6 separate regions of the Homo sapiens genome follow, and all the other regions are linked to region 1. Evidence: promoter capture Hi-C in 16 types of primary human blood cells and fetal thymus (Javierre and others, 2016). All regions are on one chromosome and are shown on one strand. The core of a region is centred on a gene start or on the middle of the fragment in contact, and the rest is flanking DNA. Distances in the headings are between cores, read along the strand shown.

The links. Contacts are between HindIII fragments. The CHiCAGO score rates a contact against its expected background, and 5 or more counts as called.
Region 2: a fragment that was not itself captured here is called in contact with the fragment with the promoter of SFTPA2 in region 1 in 1 of 17 cell types (M1 macrophages); the score reaches 5.5 in M1 macrophages.
Region 3: a fragment that was not itself captured here is called in contact with the fragment with the promoter of SFTPA2 in region 1 in 2 of 17 cell types (M1 macrophages and M0 macrophages); the score reaches 9.8 in M1 macrophages.
Region 4: the fragment with the promoter of PLAC9 here is called in contact with the fragment with the promoter of SFTPA2 in region 1 in 15 of 17 cell types (M2 macrophages, M1 macrophages, erythroblasts and 12 more); the score reaches 27.4 in M2 macrophages.
Region 5: a contact is called between a fragment that was not itself captured here and the fragment with the promoter of SFTPA2 in region 1, in 2 of 17 cell types (M2 macrophages and endothelial precursors). The highest score is 7.9, in M2 macrophages.
Region 6: a fragment that was not itself captured here is called in contact with the fragment with the promoter of SFTPA2 in region 1 in 3 of 17 cell types (erythroblasts, M2 macrophages and M1 macrophages); the score reaches 6.5 in erythroblasts.

What each region holds. Positions count from the first base shown.
Region 1 is chr10:79,557,669-79,562,187 of GRCh38, forward strand. It overlaps SFTPA2 (surfactant protein A2), which reads right to left and starts at 2,739. Exons shown (of 6, transcript NM_001098668.4): 1 at 2,696-2,739; 2 at 2,301-2,330; 3 at 1,644-1,838; 4 at 1,218-1,337; 5 at 384-461. The coding sequence starts at 1,815. RefSeq lists an enhancer at 4,420-4,519. The HindIII fragment of the contact is 5,002 bases long and covers 1-4,519 here.
Region 2 is chr10:80,297,082-80,301,600 of GRCh38, forward strand. It overlaps the pseudogene ZNF519P1. Among named protein-coding and RNA genes, the nearest start is that of MAT1A, 9.7 kb to the left of the region's middle. The HindIII fragment of the contact is 167 bases long and covers 1,783-1,949 here.
Region 3 is chr10:80,279,147-80,283,665 of GRCh38, forward strand. It overlaps MAT1A (methionine adenosyltransferase 1A), which reads right to left. Exons shown (of 9, transcript NM_000429.3): 4 at 1,534-1,646; 5 at 1,027-1,170. Among named protein-coding and RNA genes, the nearest start is that of MAT1A, 8.3 kb to the right of the region's middle. The HindIII fragment of the contact is 1,603 bases long and covers 985-2,587 here.
Region 4 is chr10:80,130,391-80,134,909 of GRCh38, forward strand. PLAC9 (placenta associated 9) reads left to right here and starts at 2,340. Exons shown (of 4, transcript NM_001012973.3): 1 at 2,340-2,436. The coding sequence starts at 2,373. The HindIII fragment of the contact is 6,415 bases long and covers 285-4,519 here.
Region 5 is chr10:80,101,304-80,105,822 of GRCh38, forward strand. No RefSeq gene overlaps it. Among named protein-coding and RNA genes, the nearest start is that of TMEM254-AS1, 24 kb to the left of the region's middle. The HindIII fragment of the contact is 2,057 bases long and covers 1,385-3,441 here.
Region 6 is chr10:80,071,382-80,075,900 of GRCh38, forward strand. The region is part of intron 1 of TMEM254-AS1 (TMEM254 antisense RNA 1); the gene reads right to left. Among named protein-coding and RNA genes, the nearest start is that of TMEM254, 5.0 kb to the right of the region's middle. The HindIII fragment of the contact is 1,968 bases long and covers 1,440-3,407 here.

The DNA.
Region 1 (4,519 bases), core at 1,489-3,988:
TCTCCCCAGTCTCTCCATCTCTGCCTCTCTCTGTGTCTTCTCTTCCTCTTCCAATTGCAGTTTTCTAAATTCACTTTTAGACTCTCCTCCATTTATTCATTCATCTAAGTAACAATTACTTATTGCCAGAAATGGTGCAATTTCCTAGGATTCAGTGGAAAGCAAGACAGGCAGAGAACTTGCTTTCTTATGAAATGGGGAGTGAATTGTGTCTGCTTGTCTCCTCTTGGCCATTCAAAGACATCAGAAAAGCAAGCATCATTCCTTTCCCCAACACCTGCATGTGCACGCTTGTTTGTCATCTCTATTCTAGAAGGTGGTGCTGAGAATGAGGGGAATTTGTGGGAAACTCCTACCCCGTGAGGCCCAGGGGGTCCCCTTACCTCCCCTTGTCTGCAGGATTTGATGTCTGAAGTCGTGGAGTGTGGCTTGGAGCTCCTCATCTAGATGAGCTGGAAGCCCTGTGGAGAGTGCCCCACACAGAAGGAGGGGCAGGCCAGTGAAGACTCCCACTTGCTGCCACGCAGGCGTTTTGCCATCTGCAATCCTGGAACTCTGCCCTTTCATTGCTGTTAGGCACCACCCAGACCCTAGGCTCAGAGGGTCCACGAGATTCCAGTGTGTCTCCACACCCCGTGGTCCCCTATTCTTTAGTGAAGCCTTGCCCCTGCTGAGACCCCCACCCCTTGTCCTCTTTCCTGCTCTGTCCCTCGAGGGGTTCTGTCTGCCCGCCTCTGTGGGGCAAGTCCCTCTCCCGCACCCTCCACCAAGGGCAAGCATGATGCTCTCTGCACTGCCCTGATGGACTTGCTTACCGCTCTGAGCTTCAAAGTTCCCCTCTGTCTGTGGGGCTCCTGATCACACCATCTGCCTGGATGCCTCGTCCGCATTCACCCTTCAGACTGCCCCCAGGGCCTCCATCCCAGGACATGCCTCCCCTGCCTCCCAGTGCTGTCCCTCGTCCCACACCTGACTCAGTGTGTCCCCATCAGCGGTCATGAGGCACGGAGGACTTCCCACACCTGCCCTTCTCTGAATTGTGACCACACTCCCCAGACACCTCGGCTTTCTCCCTCAAATTCATATTCTCTTACTTAGGTTGAGCCAAATGCCCTTGGGGAACCTGCAGGGTTTGTCTGACCCCCATCACCCCTGTGTAACTGACTTCAGGTCGCTGTGCCCATGTTTCCACTGCCCACCTGCCCCGCCCTGCTCACCTGGAGGGCCTCTCTCGCCAGCCTCCCCCTTCTCTCCACGCTCTCCAGGGACACCAGGGGCTCCAGGCAGCCCATTATTCCCAGGAGGACATGGTGTTTCTCCAGGCGGACCCATGGGGCCTGCAGAGAAAAGAGACATGGATGTGTAGGATCTGTCACCCACAACTGGTTGGAGCTAGTGAGACTCGATGCCCATTATCACCGGGGCTGGCTCAGCTATCACTCCGTGGGCACTATGAGGACAGACTCTCCAGGATGCGCCATCATAAGGGCCCCAGGAACCCACCACCCCTGCAGACTGAAGTCCCACCCAGCTTACTATAGCCCCCAGCTCACTATGGCCCACAGCCTAGGGGCCTGGACAGATGGGCCTCCTGAAAAGGGGTCTGTGTCCCTCAGCTGAGGGTGGGGTCTGCAGCACAGTACCTGGAGGGCCAGGGTCTCCTTTGACACCATCTCTCCCGTCCCTGCCTGGCAGGCCGTGGGATCCAGGAGTGCCGGGGATACCAGGGCTTCCAACACAAACGTCCTTCACTTCGCACGCAGCACCAGAGGCTGCCATCAAGATGAGGGTGAGGGCCAGAGGGCACAGCCACATGGCTCTGGGTCCAGTCGCTGCTCCTGCCGGAGGGATGGCCGTGAGCCCATCTGCCACCTCTGCCAACATCTCCCCCACTGTGCTCTGTCAGGACTCAGGAAGCTGGGCAGAGCCCGAGAGGCAGGGCGGGCGAGACCAGAGTGCTGGGAAGACCCGAAGCACCCGGGAAAATTCCAAGCATCACCTGGCACCTGGCATGGCCTCATGCTTCAGGCCTCCGGCTGGAGGTTGTGGGGTCTCAAGACTGCTGAGGAGGAGGAAGAGTAAGGAGCTCTGGGGAGCCCAGGGACCTGGGCTCCAGTGCAGTCTCCTTTCTTTCAGTGCCTCACTATGTTACCCTGGGAAACTGGCTTCACCTCTCTGATTTCAGCTGAATCTTCCATGCTCTGCAGAAAACCTGCCCTGTCCCTCCCAGGCTGTTAGAAGGAAGGATGAGGTCACTCACTCACTGACTCACTCCATCTGTCCCTCATATGCCCAGTTACCTTCTTTTCAGGCTCCAAGAAATCAGCGACCTGAGAATGAAAAGAGATGAATAGGGCCCACAGCCTGGACCCTTCAAGGTGATCATCGGGGGGTGATGACCCTCTCACAGTCAGTGATGAGGTCTTCCTTCCTCTTGGGGTCTGTTCTCCCACTCCCCCTGCTTAGGCCCTGCTGAGTCCCTGGTAGGGATGGATCTGGCCAAGGAAGATATCAAAGCATGAGGGTCTTTGTAGGTCATCCATGTTGACCATGCTGTGAAACACCTCCCAGTGGAAAATGGGGAGTTGCCCTCCTTCCCAACCTGGGCCTTGGTCAGGCCTGTGGCTGCTGGGCTGGTCCTCTCTGCCTGCGATCCTCAAGCTGGAGAACACCTAGGGGATGTGGCTAAACTCACCCACACACAGAGCCTCCAGCTGCTTGGGTCTCTGCCTCCAAGTTAGAGCATAAAGGTGGACAACAGAATTTATAGCATGTGGGCTGCCAGGCTTCTTCCCCACCCCTGAGAGCTCTACCACAAAACCTGTTCTCCAAGCAGGAAATAGGCATAGTGTTTACACAGCACATTTCCCTGCAGAACACTCAGGCTGCAGGAATACTTAGGACCCTTGAGGGGAGCACAGAACCTGGTAAAGAAAAATACCAGGTCTGTAAGAAGAGAAATGCCTCACTGGCTAAGGTCACCCACTCTGCACTCAGGGAGCTCCACTGGGTTCCTGGTTTAGTTTCAGACAATGAAGAAGTCACTGCTTCAGCTGAGGTTGGTCAGGTTGATCCAGGCCAACCTGTCTGCCCTGTAACCTTGCTCAGCTCTGAGCCCCAGGACCCCCAGCCAGTGTCTCTGGAGCCTGCAGCCGAGTTGGTGGGCACATGGACAGAGTGGCAGGCAAATATGCTGCACGTTCCACTTCCCTCTGCCCTAGCAGGTTCAGCTGGAGGAGTCAGGGCAGCACCTGGAAGGTCATGGGAGAGCTGCAGTTTCTGTCTTTGGTAGAACATCACTTTGGGTGATGTCTGGCAACCTGCAATGGTGATTATGCTAAGTGTCCCAGTGATATATGAAGCCCTAGTTGTTAGGGTCCTGGTTTGAGCATCTGGATTAGGAGGGAATCTCCAACTGTGGAGGTGGTAATGATGGGAACCCAGACAGGAAAATCTCCCCTGGCTTATTTGGAATTGGTTTGAAAAATCCCAAACCATTGAGGAGTTTGGAGCTCTTCCAGGGAGCGGAAGCTCAGACAACGGACCCCACTCCCAGGAGCAGGAAGCTGGGCAGTGCCAATTTGTAGCATGGAGTCTTTCAGCTGCCCCAGTGCTGTCTGCCACACCATGTGGTGGGTGCTGGGCCAGGTGTGGAATGGGGGAGTCAGGCCAGTGCAGGTTGGGGGCAGGTGGGGCGAAGCTCCAGCAACTTGGCTGTGGGGAGGCAGGGCTGTTTTGCAGGTGATGAGCAGGAACAGAGGCCAACTTGGATGTGCAGGGCCTTGTGGTTGGCAGGGCAGGGCATGGCTTTAGGGGAAAGGCACACCTGAGTTTTGACCCAGAGCTGTCACTTATTAACCAGGTGGCCTTGGTCAGTTTCATTTTTCATTTTATTATTCTGAAACAACATCAAAATTACAGAAAAATTGCCAGTATCGTACGACTTTTTTTTCCCCTGAACCTATGAGAGTAGGTTGTCAACATGAAACCCCAACACCCCAATACTTTAATGTGTTTTTCACGCAAAGGCATTTTTGCATTATAACCGTAATCAAGAAATAAACACGGATACAATAACTCCAAATAGCCTTCAGGCCCTATGCAAAATGTACACAATGCCCCAATAGTGTCCTTTATAGCAAAGGATCCGTTTCTGAGCCATGTGCCTTATTCGGTTGTCACGCTTCTCCAGGGTCCTGAAACCCACAAAGTCCCTCTGTCTTCCCTTCACCTTCATGACCTGAACACAGTGTGAAGATCACAGGGGAGTTACTGTGTAAAATACCCCTCACTTTGTTTGTTTGTTTGTTTGTATTGCCTTACAGTTAGATTCAGGTTCTGTAACTTCGGCAGAAATACCATCGACACCCGGCTGCGCTCTTCTCCCATTCTACCCGGCAGCATGTGACTTTAGTTTGCCCCAAGACTGATGATGTTCGTGTTGATCATTTAATTAAGGTGGTGGGTGTCACAATTTGCCACTGCAAATTTATTCTTTTTCTGATTTTAATCAGTGACT
Region 2 (4,519 bases), core at 616-3,115, 740 kb after region 1:
AGAAATAATAGCCAAAACTTCCCAAATTTGATGAAAGACACGAATCTCTACATACAAGAATAACAACAAAATCTAAGAAGGATGAATTTTAAGACACATCAAGACACACTATAGTAAAATTGCTGAAAGCCAAAGAAAAGAGAAAATCTCGAAAGCAGAAAGAGAGAAGAATCTAATCACATATAACAGTAGTAACAGTCAAAGAACAGGACAATTACAGTCAAAAGTATTAACAGCCAATTTTTCTTCAGAAATCATGCAGGCTAGAAGGCAGTAAGATAAAATATTTAAAGTCCGGGGGGGCGGGAAACGGTCAAGTATGAATTCTGTATCTGGCAAAACGATCCCCCCAAAATAAAGAAAAAATTAAGATATTCCCAGATAAATAAAAACTGAGAAAGTCTTTCACCAGTAGACATGCACTACAAGGCATGTTAATAGAGAGGCCATCAGGATGAAAGGACACTATACCATAACTTAAGCCATATTTTTTAAACGATCACACCTCTTGCTCCAGCCAGAGCTTGGGGTTAGGTCTTCACTGCCATGTGTCCTCTGTTTCGGGAGGCCTAGGTGATTCTGCCACAGCCTCCATCATTCTGTGACCTGCTGTTATTGGAAGATTTATAGCTAAGACTCCAGGACATCCCTGACTCTGAGACATGGGACTCAATATTCAGAGACGTGGCCATAGAATTCTCTCCAAAGAGTGCAAATGCCTGGCCCCTCCCCAGTGGAATTTGTATAGAGATATGATGTTAGAGAACTATAGAAACCTGGCCTTCCTGGCTATGTATTCTTTTTTTTTTTCTTTTTGAGATGCAGTTTCGCTCTTGTTGCCCAGGCTGGGACGCAATGGCACAATCTCAGCTCACTGCAACCTTCACCTCCCAGGTACAAGCAATTCTCCTGTATCAGCCCCCCAAGTAGCTTGGATTACAGACATGTGCCACCACACCCGGCTAATTTTTTCGTATTTAGTAGAGATAGGGCTTCACCATGTTAGTCAGGTTGGTCACGAACTCCTGACCTCAGGTGATCCACCGCCTCGGCCTCCCAAAGTGCTGGGATTACAGGTGTGTGACACTGCACCGGGCTGGCTATGTATTCTTATTACAACCAAGGCCTTTCACCTGAGCAAGGCATAGACGATTCATTCTAAAAAGTGACACTGGGAAGATATGGGAGCTGTGGCCTTAAAAATGTACACTTATGGAAAAATTGTGAAAGTGTGGGTGAAGGTAGAGGGCAAAAAGAACGTTATAATGTACATAGCCAATATTAGACAACTACTCATAACAAAATTTTAACTGTGAAAGGAGATCAAAAACAGAATATTACAGAAGAAGGCTCAGTTTATGTTGGCTACTTCTACAGAAGCATATGTTTCTGTAAGTAAATATCAACATCAATTTTTGAAGTCCATCTGTTGTAATGAAAATCAGAAAAACTTTAACCATGACTCAAAAATTAGTAAGCATCAGAGTACTCATTTTCTAGAAAATGATTATAAATGTAATGAATGTGGGAAAGTATTTTATTGATCCTCAAAATTTATTTTTCATCAGAGTATCCTATTCCAGAAAAGCCTGACAACTGTAATGAATATGGTAAAACTTCTAGCCAGTCCTTAAAACTTTCTCAACATCAAATAATTAACATTGGAGAGAACTCACAAAGATGTAACAAATGTATAATAGTCTTTAGTCAGTCATCACATCTAAATAGACATAAGTTAATCAACACTGGAGAGAAATCATTCAGATGTAAATAATGTGGCAAAGCTTTTACCTGGGACTCACATCTTAGACAACATCAGAAAATCCATACTGGAGAGAAACCCTTCAAATATAAAGAATGCACAAAGCCTTTAACCAATATGCACACTTTATACAACATCAGAGAATTCACACTGGAGAGAGACTTTTTAAATGTAAAGAATGTGGAAAAGCTTTAAACTGGGGCTCACAACTTACTCAACATTAGAGACTCCATACTGGAGAGAAACTTTTCGAATGTAAAGAATGTGGCAAGGCCTTTAACAGGCACTCAAACCTTACTTAGTATCAGATAATTCACCCCAGATAAAAACCCCACAAGTATAAAGAATGTGCCAATGCCCAAAACTAGTGCTCACACCTTACTCAACATTAGAAAATCAATTCTAGATAGAAATCTAATACATGTAATGATTTTGAAAAAAATATTTGCTCAAGATATATACCTTAGAAAACACCACATTATTTATGCTAAAAAACATTTTTACACATATAAAGCAGTTATCAAAGCCTTTAGCTGTTGCATAAATCTTACTTGACAGAGAGTTCCCATAGCAGAGAACCCATACAAATGTAATAAATGTGAAAAGACCTTTATCCAAAATATATACCCTAGAAAACATCAGAGTTTATGCTAGGAAGAAATTACAGGCTCAATAAATGTAGGAATGTATTTAATAAAAATTAAAGTCTAAATTAAAATCAGAAGAATCGCCCTAGAAAGAACTAAAGTAATAACACTTTGAGACATTACTCTAAATCAGAGTGGTTATTACAGAGAATAATCCAAACTCAAAATAATTAGGTAATTGTATGTTTGAAAAAAGTAAAGACATTGAATATGATTATACCTATCCATCAATGTACACTTTTTTATAATGACAGTATTTGAGATTACATGAAAAAATATTAATGTAATTAAATTCAAATTACTCTTATTTCTTTATTCCAACTGTTTTTGTAAAAGCATGTGGTCAATTGTTGCTACCTCCAACCTATGAGAGGCCCTTCTATATTAGGTAGGCATTATACACATTAACTCTCCCACAAAAGATGAAGAGCATTGACATGTACAACATATGATAAAGTGCATGTATGTTTAAATCTAAAATCTAAATCTTAAATCTAAATAAAGGTGCTCTTTTTGTTTGACTTACAGCAGTGTTTTAAGTCATGTATGAGTTCGCTGTTCAGAATATCATTGTTCCGCATTAAAGTATGGGACAGAAACACAGTATGAGACAGTTTTAGAAATATTGCTATTAATAGCAATAAACAAATCTTCACAAATATCACAGAACAGTGTAAATAACTTCCCTCTGATAAGACATAGACTAATTGTGAATTCAACTCTGTAAATGCTTGGCCTCAGTTTAAAAAATGAATGTAGCACATTTTTTCACATAGATCATGGTATCAGAATAACAAGAATGTTTGAATGTCTACAGTCTGCATTTTATCCATCAAGAAAACAGTAGATTTTGAAATGCTCTATTCAGCTATGTGTAAACTTAATTTGTTTTTTAAAAAAATAAAAATAAAATGGTTTTTAATTTTGAAAAAAGAGGCTGGGTGCGGTGGCTCACACCTGTAATCCCGGCACTTTGGGAGGCCAAGGCGGGCTGATCACGAGGTCGGGAGATCAAGACCATACTGGCTAACACGATGAAGCCCCGTCTCTACTAAAAATCCAAAAAAATTAGCCGGGCTCGGTGGCGGATGCCTGTAGTCCCAGCTACTCAGGAGGCTAAGGCAGGAGAATGGCATGGAACTGGGAGGTGGAGCTTGCAGTGAACGGAGATCACGCCACTGCATTCCAGCCTGGGTGACAGAGCAAGACTCTGTCTCAATTAAAAAAAAAAAAGAAGTAAAGATCACAGTACATATATAAATACATAAGTAAATTTAAACATATAGTCACTGCAGTGTTCATTTGTAATCCCTCTTTCTCATTTTATTTAAAAGACAAATGCATAAAACAATAATCCATGTTAATGAATATATAATGTACAAAGATGTAATTTGTAACAATAACAAAGTAAAGAGGGAAATTAAGCTCTAAAGAAGTATTATTTTTAGCCAGACAGTGCCTCATGCCTATAATTGCACCACTTTGGGAGGCTGAGGCAGGAGGATCACTTGAGGCCAGGAGTTTGAGACCAGCAAGGGCAAAAGAGCAAGGCCTCATATGTACTAAAAATTAAAAAGAAAAAAATTAGCCAGGTGTGATGGTCTGTGACTGTAGTACCAGCTACTCAGAAGGCTGAGGTGGGAGGATTGCTTGAGCCCAAGAGTTCAAGGTTACAGTAAGCTATGATCACACCACTGCACCCCAGCCTGAGTGACAGAGCAAGACCCCACCTTAAAAAAATAAAATAAAATAAAAATAAAGGAATATCATCTTTGTACACTATTGAAACTATATTAGTATTAATTCAAACTTGATTTTATGAACCTAGATGTTAATTATAATCTGAAGCATAACCGCTAAGAAAAAAACTTTAAAATATACAGAAAAAGAAATAAGAAGGGAAGCAAAATGGTACAGTAGGACAACTCAATCACAAAAAGGCAGTAATGGAGAAACAGACAAATAAAAACATACAACATACAGAAAGCAAATAGCAAAATGGCAGAAGTAGGTTCTTCCTCATCAGTTACTACTTTAGATAGATTAAACTGTCTAATTATAAGGCAGAATGGGTTGAAAAATCCAACTATATACTTTCTACAAGAGACAT
Region 3 (4,519 bases), core at 536-3,035, 720 kb after region 1:
TGAGGCCTAAAGGGGATTAGCTGGAATTTCCAAGCAGGGAGTACCTTTGGAAGGATAGGCCACTGATCCTGGCCTGGCTGGGATGATGGCAGCCCTGGGGAAGGCTGAGCTGGAGCGAGAGGGGTGCTTGATGGGGTAAACTGGGGACATGGGTAGGTGGAGAGAGATGGCGCTGAACAGGACGGGGGAAGGGCAGGAGGGAGGTGGCAGGGTGCTGCACACGGCAGGCTCTCAGGGCCCATCTGCTTGGAGGGTGATCAGAGAAACCCACAGGTGGGAGTATGTGAAGGTGACAATGGGGTCCACGAGCATGGACACAGGGAGAGAAGTTGTGCAGTATGAAGTGCTGGGAACTTGGGAATCATGAGAGGGCTCATTGGGGTTAAGCAGGGAGGGGATACAGGGGTGAGGTGCCAGGAGGCCTGCGTCTCCACTAACACTTGAATCACCTCAGCCTTCAAATATAGGCCTTGGGTTGATTTCAACACTGCAGGGAGAAGACAGGTCAGGGCCCATGGGTTTGGAGCTGGAAACAACAGACGTAAAGCCTTTTCATGAGAAACAAAGATGAGAAAAAGGGTCATGATGAGACAGACAGCACAGACAGACAGCACAGACACAGCACAGACAGCGCAGACACAGCACAGACAGACAACACAGACACAGCACAGACACAGCACAGACAGCCTGTTCAGGACAAAGAGGCCTGAAAATATGGAAGCCAGTTAAGTATGTTTGTGGCAGGATTTGGGGACTCATTAGTCAATGTTTACTAATGAGCAAACAAAAAAAACGGAACTATTCTTTTCATTTCTCTGTATTTTTGAAATTTTTTATAATAAAATGTTGTGGGAAGCATCTCTAGCTGAAGATTTTTCACATAAATAGTTCTTTTCAAAACTGACCATTCTTTGAATGCCCAGATTGAATATTTCGATCTTAAAAATGACACAATCAAGAATCAAGAGGATTTGGGGGTATTAAAGCTTCTGTCTAGGGCTCTCCTGGGGTAATTCAGCTGCTCACCTGAGTCTTAGAGTCAGGCCGCAGCCAGGGGAGGAGGCCGGAGCGCCTGAGGTCTGCCATCCGGGCGTTGAGCTTGTGAGCAAGGATGATGGTGAGGGGCATGCACTCCTCTGTCTCGTCGGTAGCATAGCCGAACATCAAACCCTGTGGCGAGAGAGCAGGCTGAGCGGCGCCCACCCTAGACCAAGAGGACCGCAGCTCTCTCCAAGCCTGAAATCTCCCTGGTGTGTCCACGTTGATTGGGTGCCTCCTCCATGGAGCTTTCCACTGGCATGTGCAGGGGAAGGACGTCATCCCTGACCCCCAACACTCTAGGAGGGGGAGACAAGCCCAAACCCAGTGTCAGCAACCACAGCCATCCACAGCACGGCCGTGAAGCTGGGGTTCCCAACTCGCTCCTGGCTATCGTGCTAGGACAAGAATCCACCCCTCAGTGTGATTAACCCACTGCTCATGAACTTTCCCAGCCAGCTCAACACACAGCTCCCACATGCAGTGCCGAGCTACCTGATCTCCTGCCCCCACATCCTCCTCATTTCTGTCCAGATGGACGCACTGGGCAATATCTGGGGATTGCTGCTCCAAAGCCACCAGCACGTTGCAAGTCTTGAAGTCAAAGCCTAGGCGGAAGCAAAGTGAGCCTAAGTGGGGAACAGGTCAGAAGGAGGGGGCCACAAACTTCCCAATGGATGGCTCGGTTCCTGACATGCCATTTGGTGTCAGCGTGGGGGTTCCCTAACTAGCCAGGGTCTGTCTAGGCCCACAGCTGAGGCCCAGGATGGGAGAGGCCCCGCACCTTCCCACCCTATCATGTAGAACTCTTTGGCCAACCAAAATTCTCCGTGGTGCATTTTACTGTGCTCAATTAGACCTTGGTTAACACACACACACACATCCTACAGAGACCTGCAGATTAAAACAAGGTGATGCCAAGGCTCCTCTGGCTGAGGACGGTGGCTGACTCATACCCTGCCCCTCAGGCTCTCCCACAGGTGCCTCCCAGAATCTAGTTTGAGCATCACTGCACTAGGAGAAAATCAAGAGCCCTTTTGATACTGTCACTCAGAAGCCCAGCTGTATGCCTGACACAACTATTAAACATACTGAACAAATACAGTGTACATGAACTATCCAGACAGACTCCCCAAGCCAGGGTCCTCTGACCCTGAGAGGTACACAGAGTCTGGGGCAAATGGAAAAGCCACCTGCCCTTTCCCATCTACAAAGCTGAGGCACAGGGTGCAGGCCTGCTACACCTAGCACGCGAGGCACTGGTTTGGGGAAGTCTGGACTAGCAGTAGCTCAGCCCTGGGAGTCCCATGAGGAAACTGCTATGCACCGAGACCGTGCGCACCTCCTCACAGCTGTGCTGGGCTCAGTCACAGGGACTGTGAGAATAAGGGACTGAATACATGGACGCCCCCACCACAAGGTCAAGCATAGTGACACACTCACTCTCCAAACCCCCACAGCCATCTTCCTTCCCATCTATTCTCCTACCCACACAGCCTGAAAGGGCTTACAGAGAAAACACACAGATCCAAGCTGCTGTTTCTGTACAAGCTTCAGGTGGGGATCTACTGCCAAGGAATAAAACTGAAGCTTTTCAGTCTGACACAGCCCTTGCTCCTGGGACTCCTTGAGCCAACATGAACTCAAGTTTAGCCATCAGCATGATATACTTTTCCATCTCCACTAGGTCCCTGCCTAGAACGTTCTACCTCCAGCTCCCACCCCACATGCCCAAACCCCACGTCCACTCTCAGTGCATGTCCCTGGACCTGCCTGCAGTTCATTAGACACAATGCCAGGAACTTACCCCAGGGCACCTCATGTTGCATCATATACCCTGGGAGTATCAGGTCACCTTTGCCCTTTACACCCTCCTGTTTCCTAATGAATGTTTTTGAATGCACAAATCAATGAACAGTCTTTAAAGAACTGCCAAAAGCTGTCCTGTTCTGCACTGAACATTTCAGTTTACCTAATCACTGTCTGTCTAAATAATGAATCTCCCCAGGGCTCAAAAATCAAGCAAGGGCTCCAAGGAATTTGGAAAAACAGAACTTAGGGGACCAAGAGGGGAGGTACAGGACTTGGAAAGGACAATGAGCCCAGCAACACCGCAGCCAGGAGCAACGAGGAGCCACTGGCCTGAGACCCTGCTAAGGCTGTTCCTGTCCACTGAGCACAGGTAAATGGACAAGCTTGGGCACAGGGAACCTCAGCCAGCTGAGCTCAACTCAGCCACGGCTGGGCTCTCGCTCATTTCTCCCTTTCTAGGGAACATTGCCTCCTGGAAAATTTCCCTCCTGCCTAATGCAGAAAAAGTTTTGCACTTGAATAAGGTCTAAATGTACATAAACAAATTGGCTTTTTTTTTGGTAGAACAGGCTCCGTGTGGTAACGCCTCAGGAAGCTGCAGCTCTGGGACAATGTGTTTCCTCTGTGAATACCCTCATGTCCCGACCAGGAGAATTAACTGGTTCTTACTGCTTCTCTTCCCACTGAGTCTCAAAATCACTGTCATGCACTCAACCAATATTAATTGCTCATGAGTGCTTTGGGCTGCACCAGGCCATGGCTGGACTGAACCTCTGCGAGTCTGCACCATCATACCATGAGTGGGCTCTCTCACTTACAAACGGGGGTCCAGCACCCTGACCCACAGGATGCTACACATCACCCTAGACAACGATTATGTGACACAGGCAGAAATGAACACCTTTAAAGTCATGCTTCTCTCTGTGCATCTTGATTACAGGTGTATAGCTAGGCAGGATGACCTGGAAGTGGGTCTTTTTGCCATGGCGTGAGGTCATCACATCTCTCACAGTGATTTCAGAGAATTAGGGAAAGAGCTAACAGAGACCCAAAATGAATTTTTCTTTAAAAATTAGAATTGCCTGAACATCTAATGCCAGAGACCAACGTGGAGACTCTAAGAATTGGGGCCAGAGCCCTGCCCAGGAAGCCAGCATGGACAAAGGGCCCCTGAAGCTCCTGCAGAATGTGATCGCATACAGGCCCTCCGCACCTGGTGTCTGCTCTCTGGGTCCTTTGCTGCCCTCCAGGCTGTGCCGCTGCCTGGCCTGCTCAGTCTCAGATGTTGGAATCTGCTTCAAAGTTCTGCTAGGGCCTGTGCCCCTTCCCTGGGTGGTGGCCCCACACTATGTAGCACTGGTGCTAACCTGGACCAGCCTCGCCTGCTGTCAGCACCAGTTCTGGACTGAGTCATCTTGCTCCATGTCTATGATTGCAAGTAGGTTTAGTGGAAGCACAGGAGTCCTCAGCCTAGTGGCTGCTTACCCTGTGATCTCACACAGACTGTTTACCCCTCTAGGCCTCCATTTCCTCGTCTGCATAAGTACATAAATGATTAAGACAACACAAGAGACTATCACCAGTGCCTGGCAGCGAGCATGTCCCCAAAGGAGGGCAGCCCCCTTTATTCAGTGCATCTTTCTCTTCCAAAGCCTTTGGCAGCGCCAAG
Region 4 (4,519 bases), core at 1,090-3,589, 570 kb after region 1:
GCGTGAGCCGCCGCGCCCAGCGCAGAAGTATTTTATGTAAATGGCGCCCCCTGCAGCCCAATTCCTACCTAGACTAACATGCTCAGGTGCACCTTGGAACAGCGCTGGAAGACCCCTTGCCCCTCCTGTGGGCTTAGTAACAATTTGGGGAACAGTTTTTGGCCTATCTGGCAAAATGTAAAAGGCCTTTGACGCAATGATTCCTCTTCCAGCCTTTCAGAAATATGTACATACAGGAATATGTACTACGTACATGAAGATATATGCAAAGGAATGTTTATTAAAGCTTATTTTATATTGGAGAGAAAAAGGAAGCAATCTACATGTCTGTCAATAGGGGACTGTTTGGATAAATAATGCTCCTTGTATCCATTCATGGGATATTTTAACTCTTAAAAGGAATGAAGTGGATTTATCTGTACCCACATAGACTGATCTCCAAGATTATTTTCTTTTATTTTAAGATGGAGTCTTGCTCTGTTGCCCAGGCTGGAGTGCAGTGGTGCAATCTTGGCTCACTGCCACTTCCGCCTCCTGGGTTCTGATTCTCCTGCCTCAGCCTCCTGAGTAGCTGGGACTACAGGCGCCCAACACCACGCCCTGCTAATTTTTTGTATTTTTAGCAGAGACGGAGTTTCACCACGTTGGCCAGGTTGGTCTCAAACTCCTGGCCTCAGGTGATCCACCCACCTCGGCCTACCAAAGTGCTGGGATTACAGGCGTGAGCCACTGCACCCAGCCAAGATTTAATGTTATGACTGAGATAAACATGAATGAAAGCAAATCTTCAAAATATCTATGACTTGATCTCATGTATATACATTTGTGTCTGAATATACATTAGGTAGATGGGGAATGCATAGACGTGGAACAGGCAGAGCCTACCAAGTTGAGGGGACTGGACCTGAATCATTGGACGGAGGGAATTCGTAACAGAAAAGACTTTCATGTTTTACTCTGTATACTTAATTACTTTATGCTCTACCGCAACAATAATGTATTGTATATGTTTTTGTGTGTGTGTGTGTTTTCTTAGTCTTAAATTCAAAATATAAGGTAGCCCACTGGCTCTAAGCTACAAGAATCCTTATGAGTTGGGCAGTTCTTTGACAACTTTTTTTCCCACCTGGCGAAACTATCAAGGAATGTCCTACCACCAAGCGTGAGAAATTTTTGGCATTCCTGAAATAAATTCTTCTTCTGAGCCAGCTCATGTGGGCATCATAATCTCCTTGAAGGCTTTTAAAAGATTTAGATCTGAGTCTGTCTCAGATTCTCGGGCTCAGAACCAGAATTTCTCCGTCTGAGGCTACTATCTTGCTCTGGAGGAGGGAGTGAGAACTGGATCACTGGTTAGCGTGGTAACTGTTTTGGACAATTGCATAGCCACAGCCAGGAACACAGAAGGCAGAGAGGCAGCCTTGATCTGCAAGAGCTCCAGGTAATCCCAACGGGGACCCTTGATGGACAAAGGCATTCTCCCAGGCTTGGTGATGAATGTGTTCCACTTACAGCCAGACGAGACACTCACTCAGGGCTCTGCAGCAGAGAAGTTAGAGCTACAGCTTTTTTGCTTTGTGTTTTTACTAAAACTTAATTTGTTGTTGCACTTGTTGGATGGGCATGTCCCATAGGGGAAGTTTCCACTACTGTGCTCTAAACTTTGGGCTGCTTGTACCATCTTACTTATCCCCTCATTAATAATGAATTGAATAAAATCTTTAGTATATGCTAATTTCATATCTTTGCGAGAGTTACGATTTTACCTTTTCTTTTTAAAATTACCTTTTCATATTTCTATCACTCCCTTACCAGAGCAGTGAGTTTCTGGGTCTCCCTCTTAGGGGCAGACACTGTTCCATGTAATTAGAATTAATTTCTTGTTCGTAGGTAGACAGAGAAAAGCTGCCAAACTCCCAGGAGACAGGGGTTCAGATCCTGTGCTATGGCTGAGAGTGATGCCGAGGAAGACACTTCCCTCCGAGTCTTAGTCTGCCCGCCTGTGAAACTGGCTCGTAACAAACCCCTGACCCCAGGCTCGGTCGCCTTGAGCCCAAGACCTCACCCAATGCCCCCCGCCCCGCCTTCCCTCCCGGGCTCCCAGGAGGTGCGGGGACTCGGGGGGCGGCCCCTTCCTCGGGAGGCGCCCAGGTGGCACGTCGGTGCCTCAGCTCCCGGGGTCTCTGGGCTCCGCGCTGCCCACGGGGTGCCGAGGGGCCTCTGGAGGGGGCGGGTTCTCTCGAGCCAGAAAGTCCGGAGCCGCCCAGGAATTTTGGCTCGAACTGAGTGCATTTCCTCTCGGGCCGGCCGGGTGCGATCCGGGAAGGGCGGCTGCGGGCAGACGCGGCGCTGCGCTCGGCCAGGCCGGCACCATGCGGCCCCTGCTCTGCGCGCTGACCGGACTGGCCCTGCTCCGCGCCGCGGGCTCTTTGGCCGGTGAGTGGGGCGCAGGGCGCGGCAGGGGACCTGGAGCCGGGGAGACCCGCAGATGGCGAGGAAGGAATGAGCGAGAGAGACGGAGAGAGAGCTGGACACAGCAGCGAGATGGACAGAGAGGCAGATGCAGGGAGGGAGGGATGGAGAGAAAGATTGAGAGGAAACAGACTCAGAAAAAGGCAGAGAAGTAGAGCAACGGAGAGATAAAGGAGATAGGGAAGAATACACAGTGAAAAGGAAAAAGGAGAGGCTGAGACAGAAAGAGGCTTCCCCTGAACAGATATGAACTAAGATAGAAAGAAAAAGGAGTTTGAGAGACAAAAGAGAAGAAGGAAAGAGAAAAAGTGATTAAAATGGCAAGGGGTGGAGGGAGAGAGGATATTGAAGAAAAGAGAAAGATTTGAGAGAGACCAAAAAGGAGAGAGAGGGAAGCTCGATGCCCGGAGTAGAGCTGGCAAGAGAGAAGGAGCCAGGATCTGGAGTGGGAGGTCACAGCTGCTGGGTGGGGCAGCCCCGGAGGCCAGCTCCATCTCAGAGGGCCTGTGGAGGCTCAGGCCTGGCTTTATAGGACATTGCATAAGAAGCCACACTCCAAAGGATGAGTGACCCAGGCTAGCCCAGCACAGCCTTAAGGAACCAGGCAGTCGGGCCCAGGAGAAAGGCCACCGATTCACCTGCCAGGTGGCCTCAGGTGGATCTGCAGTCAGTGAAGAAGTCAGCCTCCCGGTTTCCAGGGAGCTTCTCTGGGAAACTGAGCTATGTTGGGTGGAGATGGGGGACTGGGTGGAGGTGGAGAGCTGTGCGGAGGAGAGAGGCTGTCTGGGTACTCCATTAGCTGGGTTCCTTGCTTTTCACTGTCCGCTTTCTTCCCCTCACCTACCCCTCAGGCGGGCGGATCACAAGCTCAGGAGATCAAGACCAGCCTCGCTAACATGGTGAAATGCTGTCTCTATTAAAAATACAAAAAATTAATCGGGCGTGGTGGCACATGCCTGTAGTCCCAGCTACTCGGCAGGCTGAGGCAGGAGAATCACTTGAACCTGGGAGGCGGAGGTTGCAGTGAGCCGAGATCAAGCCACCGCAATCCAGCCTGGGTGACAGAGCAAGACTCAGTTTCAAAAAAAAAAAAAAAAGAAGAAGGAAAGGAGGAAAGTATTCATGTATTAGTGTAATTTCACACTGATTTCATATATTTTTGTGCATAATCTTTCAGATTTTAGATGATATATCTTAACTTTTGATTATGAAAACTTTTGGATACAAAAAAATACAAAGTAATAGTATGTGAAAGAATCATGTAATATACTTATCAACGCTGCTTCAAGAAGTATCAGTTCATGGGCAGTTTTATCTCATCTATAGCCTCCACCCTCTCTCCCCTCCCTGGATTATTTTAAAGGAAATCCAGGCATTGTATATTTTCTTTCTTTCTTTCTTTCTTTTTTTTTTTTTTTTGAGACAGGATTTCATTCTGTCACCCATGCTAGAATGCAGTGGCACAATCTCAGCTCACTGCAACCTCCGTCTCCCGGGTTCAACTGATTCTCCTGCCTCAGCCTCCTGAGTAGCTGGGACTACAGGCACGCACCACCACACCTGACTAATTTTGGTATTTTTAGTAGAGATAGGGTTTCACCATGTTGGCCAGGCTGGTCTCGAACTCCTGGGCTCAAGTGATCCACCTGCCTTGGCCTCCCAAAGTGCTGGGATTACAGGTGTGAGCCACAATGCCTGGCCTGGCATCATGTATTTTCATCTATAAATATTTCTTTGTGTACCTCTAAGAGATAAGCACTCTTAATAAACATAACTGCAATGCTATGATCATACTCCAAAAACTGTGTGTGATTGAATATCATTAAATATTCAATCACTGTTCAAATGTCCTTGATTGATTGTGTCATATCTTTTTGCAATTCATTTGTTTGATCCAAATAAGGTTACATACACTGCATTTGGTCAATATGTCTGTTAGATCTCTTTAAATATGTAAGTCTTCTCTCCCCTTTTTTTACTTAATTTTTTGTTTTTGTTGAAGAAACTAAGTTTGTCCTGTAAAGTTTTCCACATTTAGATTTTGCTA
Region 5 (4,519 bases), core at 1,163-3,662, 540 kb after region 1:
TACTTTCTCCTAAGGGTTTAAAAGTGAAAATTCCAGCCAAAGGAGCGACTAGTGGATTGGTGGTCGCTGGATTCTCAATCCTTACATCGCTGGGACCAACATAGGTGAAACTGTCCTTGGCCCCTCTCAGTACGTATGATCAGACTTTTTCCCAAGGGAAAACGAGCCCACAGCCAAATAACTGGACAGCTGGGGAGGACAAGTCTCCACAAGCAACACGTATCATCTGATCACACATGTTGAAGCAGAAGGACCCAAAATCTAAAAATGCTCCTTAAATACGAGGCAAGAGAAAATGTTAGTAATATGCAGCAAAAACAAGACATCCTAAAAAAAAAAAAAACTAAGTGAAAATATTAGGTAGGAAAAATAAAATAGTTAAAATGAAGAATTCGATAAATGGAAATAGCACAAATGAAATAGAATGGATATAGCTGAAGAAATAATATGTGAACACACGATTGTGGCAGTCTCACAATAAGACTAAAACATGAAATAGAAAAGAAAAGCTTGGAAATGTGGATGATAAACATTAAAGTGCAAACACCTGAGCAATAGTTCCAGCTGGAGTAAGAAATAAAAATAAAGTGGAGGAACTACTTGAACAAATAATGGAGATACATTTCCAAAAAATGACCTTATTTGAAAGGACTTATAAAGAGACAATAAGAGATCAGGAAAAATCAATTCCTAGGTACAACTATAAAATTTAAAAATAATAAGTAAAAAAAAAATATAATAAGTAAAAATAATGAGGAGACTGGGCACAGTGGTTTATGCCTCTAATACCAACACTCTGGGAGGCCAAGGCAGGAGGATCACTTGAGGCCAGGAATTCAAGACAAGCCTGAACAACATTTTGAGACACTATCTATCTCTACAAAAAAAAATAAGGCTGGGAGCGGTGGCTCATGCCTGTAATCCCAGCACTTTGGGAGGCCGAGGCAGGTGGATCATGAGGTCAGGAGATTGAGACCATCCTGGCCAAATGGTGAAACTTCATCTCTACTAAAAATACAAAAAATTAGCCAGGCATGGTGGCACGCGCCGGTGGTCCCAGCTACTCGGGAGGCTGAGGCAGGAGAATCACTTGATCCTGGGAGGGGGAGGTTGCAGTAAGCCAAGATCGTGCCACTGCACTCCAGCCCGGGCGACAGAGTGAGACTCCATCTAAAAAAAAAAAAAAAAAATTAGCTAGTCATGGTGGCACTTGGCTGTAGTCCTACCTACTTGGGAGGCTGAGGCAAGAGGATCACTTTAGCCCAGGAGGTCAAGGCTGCAGTGAGCTGTGATCACACACCACTGCACTCCAGCCTGGGCCACAGAGTGAGACCCTCTCTCAAAATAATAATAATAGTAATAAAGACAAGGAGAAAGTTCTAAAAGCTTCCAAAGAGAGAGCAGATCACCTCCAAAGGAATGACAATGAGATAGACATCAAATAGCTACATGAGATCCTGGGAGGCAGTGTAGTATAATGGTTAACTGTAACTACATAGTAGTTATAAAGTATTAGGAGACAGTAATTTTGAGGGTAGAATTTTATTTTATTTTATTTTTTATTTTTTTGAGACAGAGTCACGCTCTGTCACCCAGGCTGGAGTGCGGTGGCGAAATCCTGGCTTACTGCAAACTCCACCTCCCGGGTTCAAGTGATTCTCCTTCCTCGGCCTCCTGAATAGGTGGGATTATAGGCGCCTGCCACCATTCCCAGCTAATTTTTGTATTTTTAGTAGAGACGGGGTTTTACCATATTGGCCAGGCTGGTCTGGAACTCCCAACCTCAGGTGATCCACCTGCCTTGGCCTCCCAAAGTGCTGGGATTACAGGTGTGAGTTACCACGCCTGGTCTTGAAGGTAGAATTTTATATTCAGCCAAATTATCATACAAATGGGAGAGAGTGATGGGAAGAATCACCTGCATTCAAGGGCTCAGAGCACTTGCCACACACAGACCCACACTAAAAACACTTTTGGAAGAAGATCTCAAAAAATGAAAGGAAAAAAAACCCAGGTAATGCTGCAGGAGGCAAAGGGGAAGAAGAGAGGAGAGAGTCATCAAAGAAAAATAAAAAGAGAGATAATAATGTTTTCAAAACAACCCTGGTTTAGAACTATATTTGTTCCATATAACCTCCATAGTGGCACATGTATGTGTGCATGTGTGTGTGTGGTGGGATCAGTGGGGGGGTATAAATTAACTGGGCAGGAGAGCAATGCTGAATTAGTTGCATTTTTTTTTTTTTTTTTTTTTTTGAGACAGAGTCTTGCTCTATCACCCAGGCTGGAGTGCAGTGGCACAATCTCAGCTCATCGCAGCCTCCGCATCCTGAGTTCAAGCAATTCTCCTGCCTCAGCCTCCTGGGTAGCTGGGATTACAGGCACATATTACTACTCCTGGCTAATTTTTGTATTTTTAGTAGAGATGGGGTTTCACCACGTTGGCCGGGCTTGTCTCGAACTCCTGACCTCAAGCAATCTGCCCGCCTCGGCCTCCCAAACTGCTGGGATTATAGGCGTGAGCGCCCACGCCCTGGCCTGTACTGGCTGCATTATTAAGGGCAATATAGATGCTAATAAATGTAAGAAAGCAACTGGAATAAATAAACATGAAATGAGGAATTCAATGCAACTACCATAAGAATAAAAATAGAATCTATGTATAATTGTTTCTATTTGGAAAAAATTATTTTTCCTTTACTTCTTGACAATTTTCCAACAAGAGCTAAGTTGCCCACATTCCATGTTGCTGTCTTGGAGTGGGGAGAAATCTGTCTTCAAGAGAGCGTGAGAGCCAACTGGATCTGCATGGTGTGTGAACAAGACGGGTTACAATAGAAAAACAAAGTCCAGGCTGGCCACTTAGCGTAGCTCATCTTGGATGCCTCCAAAAATCTCTAAATGCTGCTCAACTTAGCCAGAATTGTGTTAAACAACACAGGATAAGAGATGAAATCATGTTTGAGCTCCACTTGTAATCAGAATGCCGGAAGGGATGGCAGAAATCTCCTCCCCCAACTCCCGCCATGGAGGGAGCTAGGTCATATGAAGGAAGGCAACCACCAATGACACCCAGCTAGCTAATTTGGTGACAGACCTAGGTCCTTGACACCTTGATATTTCACCAAGCTGCCTGTCAGTGGTGTCGGGTGAAACATCCAAAGTAATGTTCTCAACAGCATGCCTCACCTCCCAAATATTTTACAAATATTATCCAAGAATGATGTATTAAGAGTGAGAGTAGTTTCTGTGATTGTTAACTGCCTTAAACCCCCACATCCTGTTCATGTTACTGGCGTCTGCCTTTGATACTGTATCCATAGCAATGTGCAAATATTGTAAACACTCTGCTGACCCAGGGGTTTTCTTGCCATTGGCTGAAGGTGCAGCACTAATATGTTGCACATGTACACAGAATGGCCGTAGTTACAGCATTTATGAAGCTTTGACATCTGCACAGCCAGAGAGCTTGCTGGCTTACGTTCTGCATATCAGAGTATTTCCTAGGAAACTGAAAATAAATACATTATGAAATTTCAATTTTCAGTGTGTCACTAGTGTTGTTCTGGCGTCCTGTCATGCCTGCTGCAAAACACACTTTGACCAGGAAGGGATGCCTTATGAAATCTCATTATATCCTTTCAATCTGCAGAAGTCCCACAGAATTCCTTCTGTGTTAATAACAGGAAGATCCAACATGAATTAAAAACTCACTATGTGCTGGGTGTTATGCTAGAGCCTTGCTTGCATTCTTTCATTTAATTATCACTTTAAACCCTAGGAAGTAGGTGCTGCTAACCCATTTTTCCCAGTTAGAAAACGGGGGCCGGCCAGATGCGGCGGCTCACACCTGTAATCCCAACATTTAGGGAGGCCGAGGCAGGCGGATCATCTGAGGTCAGGACTCCAAGACCATCTCTACTAAAAATACAAAAATTAGCCGGGCATCATGGCGCACACCTGCAGCCCCAGCTACTCGAGAGGCTGAGGCAGGAAAATCGCTTGAACCTGGGAGGTGGAGGTTGTAGTGAGCCAAGATTGCTCCACTGCACTCCAGCCTGGGTGACAGAGTAAGACTCTGCCTCAAAAAAAAGAAAAGAAAAGAAAACTGGGGCCAAATGAATTAAATACCTTGTTTACAGTCAGAGCTAGTGAGTGTAAAAACAAAAACAAAAACAAAACCTAGTGAGTGGTAGGAACCAGGAATCAAACCTAGATTTCAAGGCCTGCATTTGTATCATGTGTTCACAGCCTAACTATTGTAAATTGCAGAGGTGACTGTAGCACAAAATCGCTCCCCAGTATTAATATATTCACAGTGGGGCGACGAAGACCCTGGTGAAGGAATGATAGAGTGTGTAAAAGCAGAGGACCCTTCGTCAGAGGACACCTGAGGATGACTGAAAGAAGCTCGGTGGGAAAGCTGAGCACTTGGAAGAACCAGGGTAACAATGGGACAAAGTGAAAGCAAACATTCTGCTTCTTTGAATTTCTTAAGGCATTTATTATGAAAAGGGGG
Region 6 (4,519 bases), core at 1,174-3,673, 510 kb after region 1:
GAACTTAGGAACTCTATAGTTTGCAGGTCAACCTTAGGTCTCTTTTTCCTTAATGTAAATGTGCACAAACACCATAATACTTCAATTTCACATAAACTCTAGTAAGTAGAGCCACCATAATACTGATGGAGTGCCCAAAGGGGGTCATTCTCCTTGTTTTCTCCTCATACTTAGATTATTTGTTTCCCAGTATTTTTTAAAGGAGGAACTGAGCTGTGGCCTAGGGCTTTTGTGGAATGGGTGGAAGTGTGCTGGTTGCAGGCAGGACTCCACGGTGTCACCCCTGAGTCATCGTTGCCCTCTTATGTGTCTCAATTTCTCTCTCTGAAGCTCTAGCACCTCTCAGAGGGCTCAAAACCTGGAGCTCCCATACGTGCTTCCTGGATGAGCCTTTTTAAAACTAATTTTGTTGGGGGTTCCCTGTAGGGCTGCTGCGCTACATGTCATGATGGGTGGGTGAACCTCACAGACACTCCCACAAGGCCCCTGGTCACCCAGGGGTGCCTTTCAGCTGGGAGGAGTAAAATGCCCTTTCTCTTTGGAGCTAAGGAAACTCAGACTCTCATTTACCTACGAAAGCAACAGTTCAGTTTCTCATTCCATATCTTATTTATCAAAAATTGTACAAGAGAAGATTATTTGTTTTCTTTTTTTTTGTTTTTTGTTTTTTGTTTTTTTTTTTGAGACAGAGTCTTGCTGTGTCCCCCAGGCTGGAGTGCAGTGGTGCAATCTCGGCTCACTGCAAGCTCCACCTCCTGGGTTCACACCATTCTCCTACCTCAGCCTCCCAAGTAGCTGGGACTACAGGCGCCCACCACCATGCCCGGCTAATTTTGGTATTTTTAGTAGAGACGGAGTTTCACTGCGTTAGCCAGGATGGTCTTGATCTCCTGACCTCGTGATCTGGCCGCCTCGGCCTCCCAAAGTGCTGGCATTACAGGCGTGAGCCAGCGTGCCCAGCCGAAGATTATTCTTTTTTAAAAAATCTAGGTAGATGTTTAATTTCCTGGTTGACAGTTGTTATTGTATTTTTTATTTTTATTGATTTATTTATTTAGAGACAGGAACTCACTCTGTCACCCAGGCTGGAGTGCAGTGGCATGATCTCAGCTCACTGCAACCTCTCCCTCCCAGATTCAAGTGATCCTCCCACCTCAGCCTTCCAAGTAGCTGGCACTACAGGCATGCACCAGCACACCTGGCTAATTTTTGCATTTTTAGTAGAGATGGGGTTTCACCATGTTGGCCAGGCTGGCCTCAAACTCCTGGTTTCAAGTGATCTGCCCACCTCGGCCACTCAAACTGCTGGGATTACAGACATAAACCACCACACGCAGCCCTGGTTGACAATTGGTTGAGTTTATCTAAATACCTGGGATCAAGAGAAAGGAATATCTGGGTTAAGGATTGTGGAGACTCAAGTTCTTATTTGCAGAGGAAGCTTTCAGGTAGTAGGCTTCAGAGAGAACAGGTTGTAAAATGTTTCTTATCAGACTTACAGTCTATGTTGATGTCAATGCCAGAAAGGTATAATGAGGCATGTCTGACTCCCACTTTCAGTCATGGCCTGAACCAGTCTCTCAGGTTACATTTTAAAAGAGCCCTGGCTGAGAAGAAAGTCCATTCAGATAGTTAGGGGGGGGCCTTAGAATATTATTTTTGGTTTATATTCATATTTCCAGAGCCTAGCACCATAACTGACACTACACTGGTCTTCAGAAATTAAATTTTATTACTATTTTATTTTATTTTATTATTTTTGAGATGGAGTCTTGCTTTGTCACCAGGCTGGAGTGCAGTGACGCAATCTTGGCTCACTGCAACCTGTGCCTCCCGGGTTCAAGTGATTCTCCCGCCTCAGCCTCCTGAGTAGCTGGGACTACAGGCACGCGCCACCACACCCAGCTAATTTTTGTATTTTTAGTAGAGGCGGGGTTTCACCACATTGGCCAGGATGGTCTCCATCTCTTGACCTCATGATCCGCCCGCCTCAGCCTCCCAAAGTCCTGGGATTACAGGCGTGAGCCACCGCGCCCAGCCGGTCTTCAGAAATATTTCTTGACTATTTGAGTGAATGATTCCTTGGTTTCCCTACCTAAAAAATGTAGCATTTTCCTTCTCCATTCTCATTATACTGTTTCAATAATTTTTCTTCTTCTCCTCCTTCCTTCCTTCCAATTTTACCTCCATCCAATGTACACAAGATATGTTCACTCCACTAGTTAAAACAAACAGAGCAGGTATGGTTGCTCATGCCTGTAATCCCAGCATTTTGGGAGGCCAAGGTGGGAGGATAGCTTGCGCTCAGGAGTTCAAAACCAGCCTGGGCTACATAGCGAGACCCTATCTCTATTAAAAATAATAATAATAATAATAATAATAATAATAATAATAATAATTAGCTCAGCATGGTGGCCCAAGCCTGACCTGTAGTCCCAGCAGTTTGGGAGGCTGAGGCAGGAGGATCACTTGAGCCCAGGAGTTCAAGACCAGCTGGGCAACATAGGGAGACTCGTCTCTACAAATAATAAATACATTAATTAAATAAAACAAACAGAATTTCACTGACTCACCTTGGCTAAGGGATCAAATCAAAACCCCTCGGTTTGATACCAAATGCCATTCATGATCAGGACTCCACCTGTCTTTGCAGCCTCAACTTCCTTCACTCAATTTCTTCACATTGTTTTTTTCTAGCAACAAAAAATTTCTCCTAATTCCCTGGACACACAATATTCTATTCAAATTTCTGTAAATTTGTTTAGGTCGCCCTTCCCCCATCCTATAATCCTGGGAAGGTGTGGGAGTTTTTTGCTGTATCTCAGCACTTGTCCATCCTATAGCCACCTCATCATAACTCCCCAAGGAGGACTACTTATTAATACCTCTGTATCTCTTGATACTGCATCATTTGTGTATTTGTGTTTGGGAGTGGACAGTATTATTTAAAATATTTTTTCTGGAATAGATAACTAATTGCCCCAAAATAATTTACTGAATAATCCATTATTCCTTCCTTAATTTGAAATGTTACCTTTATTATAAAATAAACGCTTGGATATGTATATACCAGATCCATGTCTGGAGTCTGCATTATTTTTTCATTGATCCATTTGTTGATTTCTGCATGTCAAGTGCCAAATGTTTTACATTATTATAGCTCTTTACAGTGTGTCTTGATATCTAGTAGGCCAATCTTATGAGGAAAAACAATGTTATTTTTGCTTTATTTTGCGTATCCCATAGGGCCATTAAGATTGAACCATCCTTTCATTTTGCTTGGTCTCAAGTTTTCTCTTTTGAGGATGCCCAATTCATATCCTTTAATCATTTGTCAATTACATATATTGGAGAATTCCTTCTTCCAGGTATTTCAACTTTATTTACAGTGTCATTCATATGAATGAAGCTTTTCATCTGGATGCAGTTAAATTTTCAATCTTTCCTTCTATGGCTTTTAATTTTAATAACTTGCTAAAAGGTTTCCTTCCCCTCCCTCAAAAGTTGTAAAACTATTCTCCCAGACTTTCTTCATTATTTTTCATATTTAGGTCACTAATCCATCTAGACAGGGGGATAAAAATGTCCAGGGATGAGATATTTCTCTGCCAATTCAGATGGGACAGCAGTGTAGGGTGCCTGGACCTTAGAGAATTCAGTCACCCCTGCCGTGTGTGAAGGGTGACTGTAATGAAGAAAGGAATGCCTTCTGAACATCCAGTTGACTGTAAGTTCTTCATGAATTTACATAAACTACTCACATCTGAACAAAGATCTTCTGGTACTGTCTTCTGGATTCCTTATCTGTGCGTGAGGGGCTAACAGTAAGATGTTTAGTGTTGAGCTGTTGGTGGCCAGGTACAGCCTCTAACTATAATCCCAGCACTTTGGGAGGCTGAGGTGGAAGGATTACTTAAGGCTGGGAGTTTGAGATCTGCCTGGGCAACATAGTGAAGCACCGTCTCTATTAAAAAAAAAAAAAATAGTGTGGAGTTGGAAGACATAGGACACTAAGTAACAGGCTGGGCTCCAAGCAGGGTTGTAGAAGACATGAAACTAAAACCTAGCTCCCTGTAGTCTGTTGACTGAAGCCATTTTGCCTCTCCAACATTTCTTGTAGCATGAATAATTTCTCCAATATCTCCCTCGTTGCAGATTTAATACCTAAATAGAAATACTGAAAAACGGCAGCCTAAAATTGGGGAAGTTCTTGAAACTTTTGGTAAGGTAGGCTGGGTATGGTGGCTCACACCTGTAATCTCAGCACTTGGGGAAGCCAAGGCAGGTGGATCACCTGAGGTCAGGAGTTTGAGACCAGCCTGGTCAACATGGCGAAACCCCATCTCTACTAAAAATACAAAAAATTAGCTGGGTGTGGTGGCATGTGACTGTAGTCCCAGCTACTAGAGAGAGTGTGGCAGGAGAATCACTTGAACCCAGAAGGCCAAGGTTGCAGTGAGCTGAGATTGCGCCATTGCACTACAATCTGAGCAATAGAGTGAGACTCTGTCTCAAAAAA